2 separate regions of the Homo sapiens genome follow, and region 1 is linked to region 2. The links are contacts of gene promoters, found by promoter capture Hi-C in human tissues and cell types (Jung and others, 2019). All regions are on one chromosome and are shown on one strand. The core of a region is centred on a gene start or on the middle of the fragment in contact, and the rest is flanking DNA. Distances in the headings are between cores, read along the strand shown.

Evidence for each region. Contacts are between HindIII fragments. The study calls those that stand out against the background at their distance.
Region 1: a contact is called between a fragment that was not itself captured here and the fragment with the promoter of RNF166 in region 2, in 1 of the 25 tissues and cell types used here (dorsolateral prefrontal cortex).

Annotation. Positions count from the first base shown.
Region 1 is chr16:89,117,187-89,124,046 of GRCh38, reverse strand. ACSF3 (acyl-CoA synthetase family member 3) reads right to left here. Exons shown (of 11, transcript NM_001243279.3): 7 at 3,134-3,246. Among named protein-coding and RNA genes, the nearest start is that of ACSF3, 27 kb to the right of the region's middle. RefSeq lists an enhancer at 5,232-5,526 and a silencer at 5,232-5,526. The HindIII fragment of the contact is 6,265 bases long and covers 1,030-6,860 here.
Region 2 is chr16:88,703,584-88,709,545 of GRCh38, reverse strand. RNF166 (ring finger protein 166) reads left to right here and starts at 3,138. Exons shown (of 6, transcript NM_178841.4): 1 at 3,138-3,375. The coding sequence starts at 3,221. CTU2 (cytosolic thiouridylase subunit 2) reads right to left here and starts at 3,043. Exons shown (of 15, transcript NM_001012759.3): 1 at 2,948-3,043; 2 at 2,336-2,410. The coding sequence starts at 3,015. RefSeq lists silencers at 2,775-3,084, 3,125-3,404 and an enhancer at 3,026-3,663. The HindIII fragment of the contact is 44,302 bases long and covers 1-5,962 here.

The DNA.
Region 1 (6,860 bases), core at 2,913-5,412, 410 kb before region 2:
GTGTGTGATACCAGTGTGCACACTGCGTGCGTGTGATACCTGTGTGTGCACTGCATGTGATACCCATGCGTACTACGTGTGCTATCCGTGTGCACACTGCGTGTATCTGTGATACCCGTGCGCGCACTGCATGTGTGTGTGGTACCTGTGATATGTCACAGGATGTGAGGGAGTGGTAGGAGCCAGCCCCTCAGCGAGGTGATGGAGGAGGCTGAGCCCTGGGCCTGGCAGGCCAGCTGCCACCTGGGGAGGGTCCAGATACTCTGGCCCCGGGGATGATCCTGGGAAGGTGTCCTCCCATCCCCACAGGGCACATTCCTTTCTGCAGGTACTTTCTGTTTCCTGACAAATATGACACCAAGCCTCTTAATTCAGCTCTGAAGGCCTGGCTGATCATCTGCCCAGGAACAGTCATGAGTCACTCCACAGGCCTAGGGATGGCCATTCTCATGACTAGTCCTGAGGGAGACCTTCTGGGGAGGGACGCTGGCCGGGACCCACGCCTCGGCACAGACAAGAGTGGATCGGACAGCCCAGCTGTCGGCCACAGCCTCACTTGAGCCACGTGGATCCGGGACCGTGGTAGTGAGGGGCACCCTCGGGTTCTGGGATGCTGTGGAGAGAAGGGCTACTGCGTGAGACTCAGATGAAAGTACCAAGTGCGTCTGCGAGTGTGAGCGTGGGGTGGGGAGTCCCTTCACATGAGAGAGCAGCAGGTCTCTGATGCTGGGGCTTTTCAGAGTTCACAGCGCCCATCATCACCTGGTTGTCCTGGGGCGCCCACCCACCCCTCTGGGAGCCCTGAATCTCAGGTGTCGGAGGGCACAAACCCTGAGGCCCTCAGGCTGTGCTCCTCCCCACGAAGGGTCTTGGCCCCTGGTGGAGCCAGGCCCCGCAGGGCAGCTGTACTCCACCTGCTGCACCGACTCCTTGGCTGAACTGGAAATGTTCCCGGGCCTGCTGTCAGCAGATGCAAACCCCCCGTACGCTGAGATTTAAGCAGCCCCAGAGCATCTGTGCGGCTTCACCTTGCAGGGTCTGCCTGCATGCCTGTCGCAGAGGCCCCTGTGCGGTGTCTCTGACTGTCAGGGTGCCCAGGTAGCTGAGGCTGCTGCTTCTATTTCAAGACTGCTTCAGGGAAGAAACCAGCAGACACAAATAATTAAAGAAACTCAGGCAGGAGCAATCAGGTGGCGCGGCAGCCAATGCAGGTGTGAAGCAGTTAAGTTTTGTTTTAATTTAAGACAGAAATGCTCCCCACCCCCGCTCCGCCCCTTTCTCTGGCAACATTTCTGCCATTTCCGGCAGAGCAGGTGCTCAGAGGCAGGAGTGTCAGCTGACTGACACCTGGAGAGGGCTGCACAGCCACGGGGCGTCTCACTCCTCCACACGCCACTCACGTTCTGCTCTCTGCTGGGGACATTTCTGACTAGATGGTGTCCCCAACCCAGGCACAGGCTGAGCCCCGTCCCTGCAGACAGGGTTGGAACTGGCTGAGCTGGGAGGTCCTCGAGTTGGGGGCAGGGGCACTGCAGGGCACAGACTTGAGAGCCAGGAAGGGCCGGTGTATTCAGGAACCTGAGATGTGGGGTGTGGCCAGCAGCCTAGTACCAGCAGGGCAGAGGCAGGAATCCCAGGAGAGGCATGTCAGGACAACAGCATGGGCTGGGGCCCTACAGAGGGCAGGGGAGGTGGGTATAGCAAGGGGCAGCCACCCAGGTGGGTTTCAGCAAGTTGCCCCATGGCTCTGTGGGGGCCACAGGGATAACAGCCCACTGCGGGGGGCCCAGGCCAGGCGGGACACACTGTGCGGCCCTCCACACAAGGTGCGGCCACTGCAGGTGGCCCCAGGTGAGAGGTTTCCATGGGGAAACAGAATACCCACTTCAGGGCCACGGGGGATAACAGCCCACTGCGGGTGGCCCAGGCCAGGCGGGACACACTGTGCGGCCCTCCACACAAGGTGCGGCCACTGCAGGTGGCCCCAGGTGAGAGGTTTCCACGGGGAAACAGAATACCCACTTCAGGGCCACGGGGGATAACAGCCCACTGCGGGGGGCCCAGGCCAGGCGGGACACGCCGTGTGGCCCTCCACACAAGGTGCGGCCACTGCACCTTTCAGTGTCATTTAATGACACTGAAAGCCACCCACATCCTACTTGGTTGCTGGAGCTAAAACGTCCAACCACGACCATCGCTCCAACCCTCACGTGGTCATGTGTGGAAACCAAGGTACAAGGAGGGCGTGTGGCTGTTCACTCACGAGAGCAAGGCCCACGGCCCCTCAGCCTCTGCACAGGGAGCTCAGTTGTGCCCGTGAGGGCCAAGATGGTGTCACAGAGAAGGAAATGCACAGAGATGAGACTCAGGATCCCTCGATCTTTGAAAACCTCAGGGCAACACAGTCAATCATGTGTGGTATCAGGTGTGGATACTGGCTTCAGAGAAAATAATTTCCTTTTAAATCAAGATTCCATTTCCCCATAATCCCTAAACCTTTCTCTGTGATGAGTTCACGTGTGATGAGCAGACTCTCATGTTAAAATCCTCACAGAAATGAGACAATGTCCTTTGTTCTTGTTCACCCTTGTCAGCTTTAGAATAACGCACAAGACAAGGAGGCAGCCACAGAGCACTGCACAGGCACCCACCTCCGCGTGCAGGGCCCCGTGAATCTCCCCACACCTACTATGGGGGCCTGTGGTCAGCGTCCCCTCAGGACGGGTGCCAGGGTCAGGCCAGTTCATATTTCTAACCAGATTCCCATCAACAACAACGGCCTCTGCTCTTTATCTCTTCCGCTTAGCCAAGGCCATCATGGCCCACGTCAGCCTGTCCCCGTGGACAGGGCCCCTGGGAGGAGCTGTGTGCCCGGGTGTGAGTCCCTTTGGCGTTCCGCCCTGGGCTCCCTCTGCCCACTGCTCTGTGAACGCACAGACGGACACGCAGCAGGCAGGGCCCAGAACACCAGCCAGTGCCCTTGCAACACCAGCCAGCACCTGCAGTGTCCAGGGGGCTGGTCCCCTGCGTGGAGGGGAGTCTGCCTCCAGGGGAAAGATGCACCAGTGTAACCACCCTGGGGGGCCTAGACTGGACACACGGCCGCCCACCTGCCAAGAGCAGAGTGGCTTACCTTGGTCCCCCTCTCGTCTCCCTCTGCGTGGATGGTGTAGGAGCAGGCTTCCCTCTGTGGGTTTTCTGAGACAATGCGCACCTGTACTCCAGGCAGTGGGGTCCCCACGGAACCTACAGGAGAGGAGAAACACTGAAGGGGAGGCTGGAGTGAGAGGAACCTGGAGGAGAGAAGCACACACTGAGCTCGGATCCCGCTGAGCTCCCGTGTGCCACGTGCGGGAGTCTGTGTGGAGGGAGCGACGTGCCCTGTGACCCAGAGAGAAGATGGTGTAGGCACCAGCAGGTGAAAAGCCACACGATACGTGGCTGGCAAGCACGGTGTGCTCAGGCCCAGCCGATGCCACAGTGATGGCCATGTGGCACAGCAGGCACTCACGTGGCACGCTGGGCCTGGCCTGCCCTGGGCCCCTCATACATCACTTTCCCAGTTACTTCCCAAAGCCTCACAGCTGCCCACAGATTCTGGTGTCATTCCCACTTTTACACACTTGCTGGCCAGGGAGGGCTGGCGCCTTGCCCTGATGGCCCCGGGGCTGTCCACGATGAGGGGACCTGTGTGTGCCCGGCACACGACGGGCTAAGGCAGGATCTGCCCTATGTCCCCAGGAGGGGCTGTCCTGAACTCTGCATGGCAGGTGGACCACACTTTGTACTGGCTCATTTATTAGACACCCATGATTTGCTCAGTGTATCCATCCCACCTGCACAGTCTCAACGTGGCTAAAATCATATCTTACACTGGCCGGGGTGGGGGCAGAGCCCAGGTGGCGAGACGTGTCCCGCCGGCACACGCAGGGCTGCCGCAGCCTCGCTCTGCCTGTGGTTTAGGTTGCTGGTGGGACGGCAGAGGCTGCTCATGGAGTGCGGCCCTGGCGATGTGGCGTCAGCACGGGCATGACCTAGGGGCAGAGCAGACGTGGGACTTCCTGTCTATCCCGGGGCGTGAGGCCTTTGCCCTGGCCTGCGTCAGGGGAGTGCCTGAACGCTTATCATGTCTGAGTCCACGCTGAGATTTCCGGCACTTCAAGGGTCAGCATCGAGGGTCAGTGCAGTGAACTCTGCAATCCATGGGGCGTCCCGGCCTCCAGACGCTTGGTGAGGGGCTGTCGGTGCCCGGCTCGGTCTTGCTGATCCTGCTGGGCCTGTCCACACCTGGGGTCCTGCAGGCGAAGCCGGGCTAGTGTGGTGTGCGGAGTGTCACCTCGGGAGTTCTCTGTGGTTCCAGGTATGCAGACGCCCCGAACCTCCACTCTGGTCAGAAACCCGTGTCACCACTATGGGGGGTGTGGCGGGGCCAGCTTCAGCCCCCTTTCTTCCATCCTTTCTCCTCCTTTATGTTTTGCTTCTGAAGATTTTTAAATGGGGGTGAAACCCGCATAACACATGACTTCCCATTTCAGTGCGCGGCACGGCGGTGTTCCGCACACACATTGCACAGCCCCCCACTTCCCCTAGTCAGAACTCCCGCACAGCCCACGACCGCCACACCCTCCCTCCCCAGACCTGGCACCAGGTCTGCTGTCCGCGTCCGTGGTTTTTCTGTTCTGGGCGTTTCATAAGAAGAGGACCATCACAGGCGGCCTTTCGCCTCTTCCTGGTGATGCCTCTACTGGGGCGGGGACGCAGCGCAAGGACACGGCACGGCTGGGGTAGGGGCGGGGGCCGCAGGTGGGGAGGCCGTGTGGCCGTCCCACACCATCTGCAGAGGCTGAAGAGGCTCTGGGATGGTGTCTGGATTCTGCAGCAGCCAAGCAGTGGTATTGTCCATGAGAGCTCAAGGAGTGGCCCCCACACTCCAGGTGCCGCCCGTGAGAGCTTCAGGGAGGGGCCCCCACACTCCAGGTGCCACCCATGAAAGCTTGAGGCAGGGGCCCCCACACTCCAGGTGCCACCCGTGAGAGCTCGAGGGAGGGGTCCCCACACTCCAGGTGCCGCTCGCTGTGCCCCGGGCATGTGACAGTGTGGACATGAGAGCTCAAGAGAGTGGACAGAGGCTGGCCCCGCAAAGGCCAATGTAGATGGGAGCGCAGCTGCAGGCAGGTGGGGGGCACTGCCTTCCTGCCACAGCCCACCTCTAAAATCGCTGTCAGCCAGCCCCTCCCTGATAACTCTGACTGGGGACTGGGACCCAGGGAACGGAAACCGCCAATGAGGCCCTGGAGCTCCCTGTCAATGCCACAGAGTGGCCCAGGAGCCGTGAGCACCTCTGAGCTCAACCTCCAATTAGAGTGTGACGAGGCCCAGCAGTGGTCGGCCATGAATTATTCATCTCCCTCCACAGGAACCGCACGGAGCAGGCCTGTAACCATAACACACGACAGAGCTCACCCTCCACCCAGCTTCTCTCTCTTCCGAGCACGGACAGTGCACTGAGCAGCGAGGCCAAGCATGAGCTCAGAGCCTGTGGCTGGAGCCGACCCAAGGGTCAAGGCCATGGCCACCAGGGTGGGGGTTAGAGCCTGAGAGTGAGGAAAGCTCTCCTCCACCGTGCCCTCTAGAAACATGGCTCAGGAGGCTGCATTTTGGAGTTTTTGTGGGGCATATTGGATTTAATGCTGAGGTGACTTTACTTACTTTTTTCCAAACCAAAGAACTCACACTGCTGGTGATTTAAAGGCAAGGATAAAATCACAGATATTTGATTCTGCCTTAGAGAAGAGGGAGCGTCCCCGGCGCCCCAGGGAAACTGCCGTATGCTCTGCCTTAGAGAAGAGGGAACATCCCTGGCGCCCGAGGGAACCTGCCGTCAGGCTCTGCCTTAGAGAAGAGAGAGCGTCCCCGGCGCCCGAGGGAATCTGCCGTGGGCTCTGCCTTAGAGAAGAGAGAGCGTCCCCGGCGCCCGAGGGAACCTGCCGTGGGCTCTGCCTTAGAGAAGAGGGAACGTCCCTGGCGCCTGAGGGAACCTGCTGTGGGCTCTGCCTTAGAGAAGAGGGAATGTCCTTGGCGCCTGAGGGAACCTACTGTGGGCTCTGCCTTAGAGAAGAGGGAGCATCCCCGGCACCCGAGGGAACCTGCCGTCGGTAGCTGAAGACTCGGGGATTGGTGCACTCAGGTTTCTTGCCCAATAACCCTGAAGCTTCAGGGTCTCTGGATCCCCCTCCTCAGCCGGGGACTCCTCTCCCTGTGCCATCTGTCTGGGGCTCCTTCCTGTTCGCCTAGGAGTTCTGATTCCAGCGTGGGGAAGCTGAGCCTCCCCTGGGTCTCTGGGCTACTATCTGCTCCTTGGCGCCCTCGGTGTGGACGGCGGTCCCTGGGCTGCTCCTTGGCGCTCTTGGTGTGGACGGCGGTCCCTGGGCTGCTCCTGACGCTCTCAGTGTAGACAGTGGTCCCTGGGCTGCTCCTGACATCCTCGGTGTAGACAGCAGTCCCCGGGCTGCTCCTGACTCCCTGGGTGTAGACAGTGGTCCCTGGGCTGCTCATGACTCCCTCGGTGTAGACAGTGGTCCCTGGGCTGCTCCTGATTTCAGCTTCTCAGCCTTGTATCTGTTCCAGTAAAAAAGGCTAGGGGGGCACTGTCCATCTTCTCTAGTGAGGGCCATTGAAGAGGTCACCGTGCTCCTGGGAAGTGCATCACTCACCAGCCGCGTGACCGTGGGCAGGCTCATGGGTTCTTGTATGTGAGTGCAAAATATGACCCCATCGCAGGGGCTGTTTCGAGAAGATCAAAAGAGAGGACGCCCACAAAGCAATGCTGTGGATGAACAGTCATCATGAACTACAAACTG
Region 2 (5,962 bases), core at 1,889-4,388:
CCACCTCTTGGAGGTGAAACGTGGAAATGGAGCGGGCCACAGCGAGGACCCACCATGCAGAGACACCACCTCTTTGGGGTGAAGTGCGGAAATGGGGTGGGCCACAGCGAGGGCTCAGTATCCTGGGGCCCCAGAGCTGGCATCTTTAGTGTGCTGGGCTCAACTGGGCCAGGAATGGCTAAGAGGCTCACTCACAGAGTGGCCTGGGCTCCTCCCCTAACCCCACAGAATCAGAACTTCCAGGCCTGGGAACTGCATTTTTAAGAGACAGGGTCTCGATGTGTCACCCAGGTTGGAGTGCAGTGCCACAGTTATAGCTCACTGCAGCCTCAAACTCCTCGATTCATGTGATCCTTCTGCCTCAGCCACCCAGGTAGATAGGACTACAGGTTACAGATATATGCCACCATGCCTAGCTAATTGTTGTATTTTTTGTAGAGACAAGGTCTCACTTTGTTGCCCAGACTGGTCTCAAACTCCTGGCCTTAAGTGACCCTCCTGCCTGGGCCTCCCAGAGTGCTGAGATTCCAGGTATGAGCCACTGCGCCCAGCTGTAATCTTTGTTCATAATAAACTTTCCAGCCATCTGACTCTGGCTCACTACGTCAGGGGTTCTTGGCCCTGGCTGTATGTTAGAATTGCACAAACCAATTAAGTCAAATTGTCTAGGGGTGAGGCCTAGGAGTCTGCATTTTAAAGCTCTCCTGCAATCCTGGCAGGCAGGGTGAAGAGCAGCACCCGGTACAGAGCGGACAATGCCACTGCAAGAGTCACCCTGCACCTGGGGCTCTAAGTCTCTTCCTTCCTGTCAGACACACTTGATGTGCACAGCAGTCCCTCCCTACGTTGAATGGATACCACGTACAAGAGGCCGAATGACCCCCCTGTGGTTCCTTTACAGACAGTAAAGCAAGTCTGTGTTTAACAGCAAGATGCCAGGTGAGGGACTGCAGGTAACTGGCAAGTATCAAGGCTGGGACATGGGAAGTGACCCCCAGGACCCAGCTTTGGGCGTGGGGAGTCTCATACAAGGAGACACAGGTGCTGGGCTTCACCTCCGCACTGTGGACCAGGAGAGCCTCTGCGCCCTACACCACCAGCTGGGATTCAAGCGTGGTGGGTCCACGTGTACATGCTGCGTCTGGGCTCCTGAAACCACGCTGTCCCCTGTGGGTCAGGGAAGGCCAAGGTTTCTCCCACGTGCTGACCTGAATGATCCCTGGGGATCCCAGCTCGATGTAGATTCCTAAGGCCTTCCCCTAGAGAGCCGGCTCCCCACTGTTCCTTGGGACCAGCAAGCACAGCAAAAGCCCTTCTGGCCACAAGGGCCTAGCATACAGCCACAGCAGCCTCTCCTCAGTGAATTCTGCCGGCAGCCTGGTGTTCTTGGCAATTTCAGATGCTCCTGGGTGGTTAAAGAAGTACCTATCTTGGCCAGGTGTGGTGGCTCATGCCTGTAATCCCAGCACTTTGGGAGGCCGAGGCAGGTGGATCACTTGAGGTCAGGAGTTCGAAACCAGCCTGGCCAACATGGTGAAACCCTGTCTCTACTAAAAATACAAAAACAATTGGCCGGGCATGATGGCAGGCACCTGTAATCCCAGCTACTCAGGAGGCTGAGGCAGGAGAATCACTTGAACCCAGGAGGTAAAGGTTGCAGTGAGCTGGGATCATGCACTCCAGCTGTTGCACTCCAGCCTGGGTGACAGAGGGAGACTCCATCTCAAAAAAAACAACAACAACAACAAAAAAACCACGCACCACCACTGGGAATTAAGAGGGCTAAAAGGAGAGAGACCTGGTCCTCCCTTCAGGGAGCTATGAGTCTAGTGGAAACAACTGAACAATACAATGGCTACAAGCCAAGAAAGACATGACAAGCGCCTGGGGGAAAGCTAGAGGTCTTCCAAGCCTCTATCCTGCCACAGATGAAACAAGCATCTCACACGAGATTAAAAACTTTCACCCAGACCATCTGCCAAGTTCCCAAGATGCTCTGATCCGCCCCTAGATGTATTCCAGCTGCCCCCAAACGCCTGGTCCTCCTACAGCTTATCCCAGTCTAGACACCACGGCCCCACTTCCAACTGTCCCCATAAGTTCCATCAGAAACCTCATCAGGGGATCTGTGGCTAGCTCATGGGAAACTTTCCCAAGCAGGAAACCAATGCTTTCGCCTCCACTTCAACACCAGGGGCACGAGGGACCCCATCAGGAGCAGGAATAAAGTAAGTACATGTTTTTAAAAAGAATTAACAAAGCATCACAAGTTGCGGCTATCCTGTCTGCTAGCGAGGCCATGTTTGCCAGGGTCTCAGCCACCTCCAGGCCTCACCTGCAGAAGGCATCTCCGGCTCGTATCACCACAACGGGCTGCGCTTCCTTGCACTTCACACACTTCTGCTCACGGCTTTGGAGATGGGAGGGGGGAGAAGAGAGAAACACAGATCACATCTTCCCCACGCCTAGTGGGCTTTGGGGAGACAGCTCCTGTTTCTCACCCTGAGTTGGGTCAGAGAAAGGCACCTCGGTACACACACAAACCCAGGCTTGTGTTCTGTCCAAACTTCAAGAAAAACAAAGGCTCTGGGGGGATGTTTAGCCTAGAAAAGCCGGCTCAGGGGGCACATAAAGGCCGCTTTTCAGTCTCCCAAGGCTGACACGGGGAGGCGAGACAGCTTCACGGCACCAGTTCTCTCCGAATAAGGACAGCACTGTCAGCGGCAGAGCCGTCCCCAGTGGCTGCTAGGATGAGAGGCGCGAGCCAGTGGAGTAAGTCCCCTTCTAGGTGGCCGTCACCGCTTGACAGGCATTCCCCGAGTGCTAGGGAGCGAGGTCCCGCTCTCCACGCGGGGCTTCCCGGAGCAAGCCCGGCCGGGACCCTTCGGGGCAGGAGTGCGGCGGGAAGGCGAGGGGCGGCCTGGCGGGTCCGGCCGCCAGCTCTTACCTGGGCCGCGGCGCCGGGGGCGGCTCCTCAGGCGCCGGCTCCCCGTAGTCCTCGCCCACCTGACACATGGGCACGCCGGGTCCCGTCGCAGACTGTGGCGGCGACAGCGCGAGGGCGCGCCCCGATGACGTCGGAGTGGCGCCGTGACGGCCGCGAAGCCCGGCTGGGGGCGGCGCCCTACGATGACGTCAGCGCGGCGCAGTAGCGGCTGTGACTAGCGGGCCGGCCCGGGCCAGGACAGCGGGCGGCGGGCGGCGCGGGCCTGGCCCCGGGATGGCTATGTTCCGCAGCCTGGTGGCCTCGGCTCAGCAGCGGCAGCCGCCGGCCGGGCCGGCGGGCGGCGACAGCGGCCTGGAGGCGCAGTACACCTGCCCCATCTGCCTGGAGGTCTATCACCGGCCCGTGGCCATCGGCAGCTGCGGCCACACGTGAGCGCGCCCGCCCAGGGGCCGCGGGGAGGGGGCCGTGCCCCGCCGCGGGAGGGGTCGCGAGGCCGGCGGCCGCCCCGGTGCAGCTCCGGACTGGGCGCGCGGGGACTCGGGGCGCCGGGGCCTCGGGGCGCGTGGGGTCCGGGTTTCCCTGTGCCGCGCCGCCTCTGCCCTCTGGGCGCGTTCATCCCCCGCCCAGCCTCCTTCGCGCCAGCCGCAGGCGCCCGGTCCGACTGCTGCTTCGGTTCACCGGGCGACCTGCGGCCCTGCCCAAGCTCGGGGTCCCCGGCGGCTGCGGCGGGCGCTCCGGTACTCAGAGGGCAGCAGGTGCCACCGCTCCGCCAGTGGTGGTGGATTTGGGCTTGTGCGGCTGGAATGGGCAGTTGTAAATAAATAACTTGTAGTTTTTGCTATCAACTCTTGTTCGGACCCGCTGTCTGCCTGTTTTGACTACAGAGGAAAGGAGTTCCCTAAAGTTTAGAGGGGCTTGTTTGGAGTCTGATGTTCTTAGTTTTGTTTGAAGGAGAACTTGAGTCACACCGATCACTGAGTAGCCAGGCAGGCTGGTCCACAGAGGAGCAGACACTGACCACCTTGCTGGGGTTTCCAGCTGCACCAGGGCTCACAGCCGGCTCCTCCAGGGTGTTTCAGGAACAGAAACTGGAGGACGTGGCTCTCCTGGCGGGGAGCTGTGCTCAAGTATTCTGGAGCTGCCAGCCCCGTTGGGAGGAAGCCTAGATCAGTGTCTGCTCCCTCCTAAGTGCTGAATAATACAGCTCTTGAGCAAAATCAGCAGTGGCAGGGGAGAGAGAGAGCAGGAGGGCTTCCCCGCAGACATCCAAGCTGCTGAGGTGGTGGAGTGGAGGGGGGTGCACCCAGACTGGTAGGAGGCTCTAGAACATTTTGCAAGCAAAGTCAGCTGACTTCAGGGGCTCCTGGTACAGAGGGAGCTGGGACTGCTAGGTGGATGTGTGCTGGTCACCCACGGAGGTGGCAGGGCCAGTGTCAGGATGCAGAGCTGCCTTCATTACCTGTGTCAGGCAGCACAGGCGCCTGCCCACGCTGGGACAGCTCTACCTACTTCTCTTGTGAGGCTGCTACAGGCTCTGCCCCTGCTCCTCCATCTCACTTAGCCGTGACATTTTGGGGGGGCAGCCTCTGAACGGGAATATTTTTTTTTGAGACAGAGTCTTGCTCTTGTCACCCAGCCTGGAGTGCAGTGGCGCCATCTCGGCTCACCGCAACCTCCATCTCCTGGGTTCAAGTGATCCTCCTGCCTCAGCCTCCAGAGTAGCTGGGATTACAGGCACCCGCCACCACGCCCGGCTAATTGCTGTATTTTTAGTAGACAAGGGGTTTCACCATGTTGGCCAGGCTGGTCTCGAACTCCTGACCTCCGGTGACCTGCCCGTCTCAGCCTCCCAAAGTGCTGGGATGACAGGCGTGAGCCACCGCGCCTGGCAGGACTTCCTTCTTGTGAGCAGGTAGCGGGTGTTTGAAGGTGTGTTCCGCACCTTCTCATCTGTTACTGAGCGCTGTGAGGCTTGACTTAGGCCTTGTTTTAGAAAAGCCTCCCGTAGGCTTTGGGTGCCAACACCTTCACCGTGTGGTCGGCCACAGCATCTCCACTTTCCTAACCTGCACAAATTGGTCTTTGCCCTTCTTTTTCAAATATGTCTTTTCCTAAAATGTAGTTTCCATAACACAGAATGCAGAACCACATGGAATTGTGGAGCATCTTTCCTATAAAACTCCCCTCTGCCATGCTTTTCTTGGTAGAATGACGACCATCCTAGTCTCACCGCGGGTCCTGCAAGAGCTTTTCACACAGCCTTTGCCTTTCAAAGATTTTTCTCCCCGACTTTTCCTGCTGGCTTTTGTTTTCTGGCTGTTCTCTCTCTGCTTCTAACTTTGTTTCTTGTTGGTGTTGCTAAGGCATGCATGCAAATGACCACAGAAAGTTTAAAGGCTCTTCAGGTTCCCTTCGGAAGTTTGTTGCTGGTCTGGTTCTGTCCCCTCCGCAAGCTCCCCAACCAGAGCAACTTCCTCCTCCAGGGTAGATCTCTCATGGCAAGAGTATCCCAGTGTGGGGGCATGCACCCTGCTCTAGCCCTCGCGCAGGAGGCCCCCTGGGGGCCCAGCAGGAGCTGTTCTCAGCCAGGGGACAGTCTGAGCAGTGAGCCACCTCTGTAACCAGAAGCCTGTGGGCCAGGACACGCGTGATCACGAACCTGCCTGGAAGGGCTGTGTGAGCAGCCTCCACTCGTGCAGGACAGCTGTGGGGCTTGCTGAGGGTGCTGGCCTGCCAGCCAGGCAGATCCCTGAGGCACGGGCCGTCCCAGCTTCTCAGCTTGTGCAGCGGCCAGTGTGGGAGACACATTGGCAGTCCCGGGTGCCTGCTGGGAGGGCCAGTGCGCGATCGCCCCTCCCTTTGTAAGGCTGTCGACGCCCCCACACCCATCGCCCTCAGCCACTTCCTTCAGCTGAGAAGCTGCTCAGCACCAGCCCCTGGGTGGGCGCAGACAGGAACTTCCTGTGGGGGAAGCGGGCACTACTCCCGGCTGCTGGCTCTCTGAACACCAGGCTG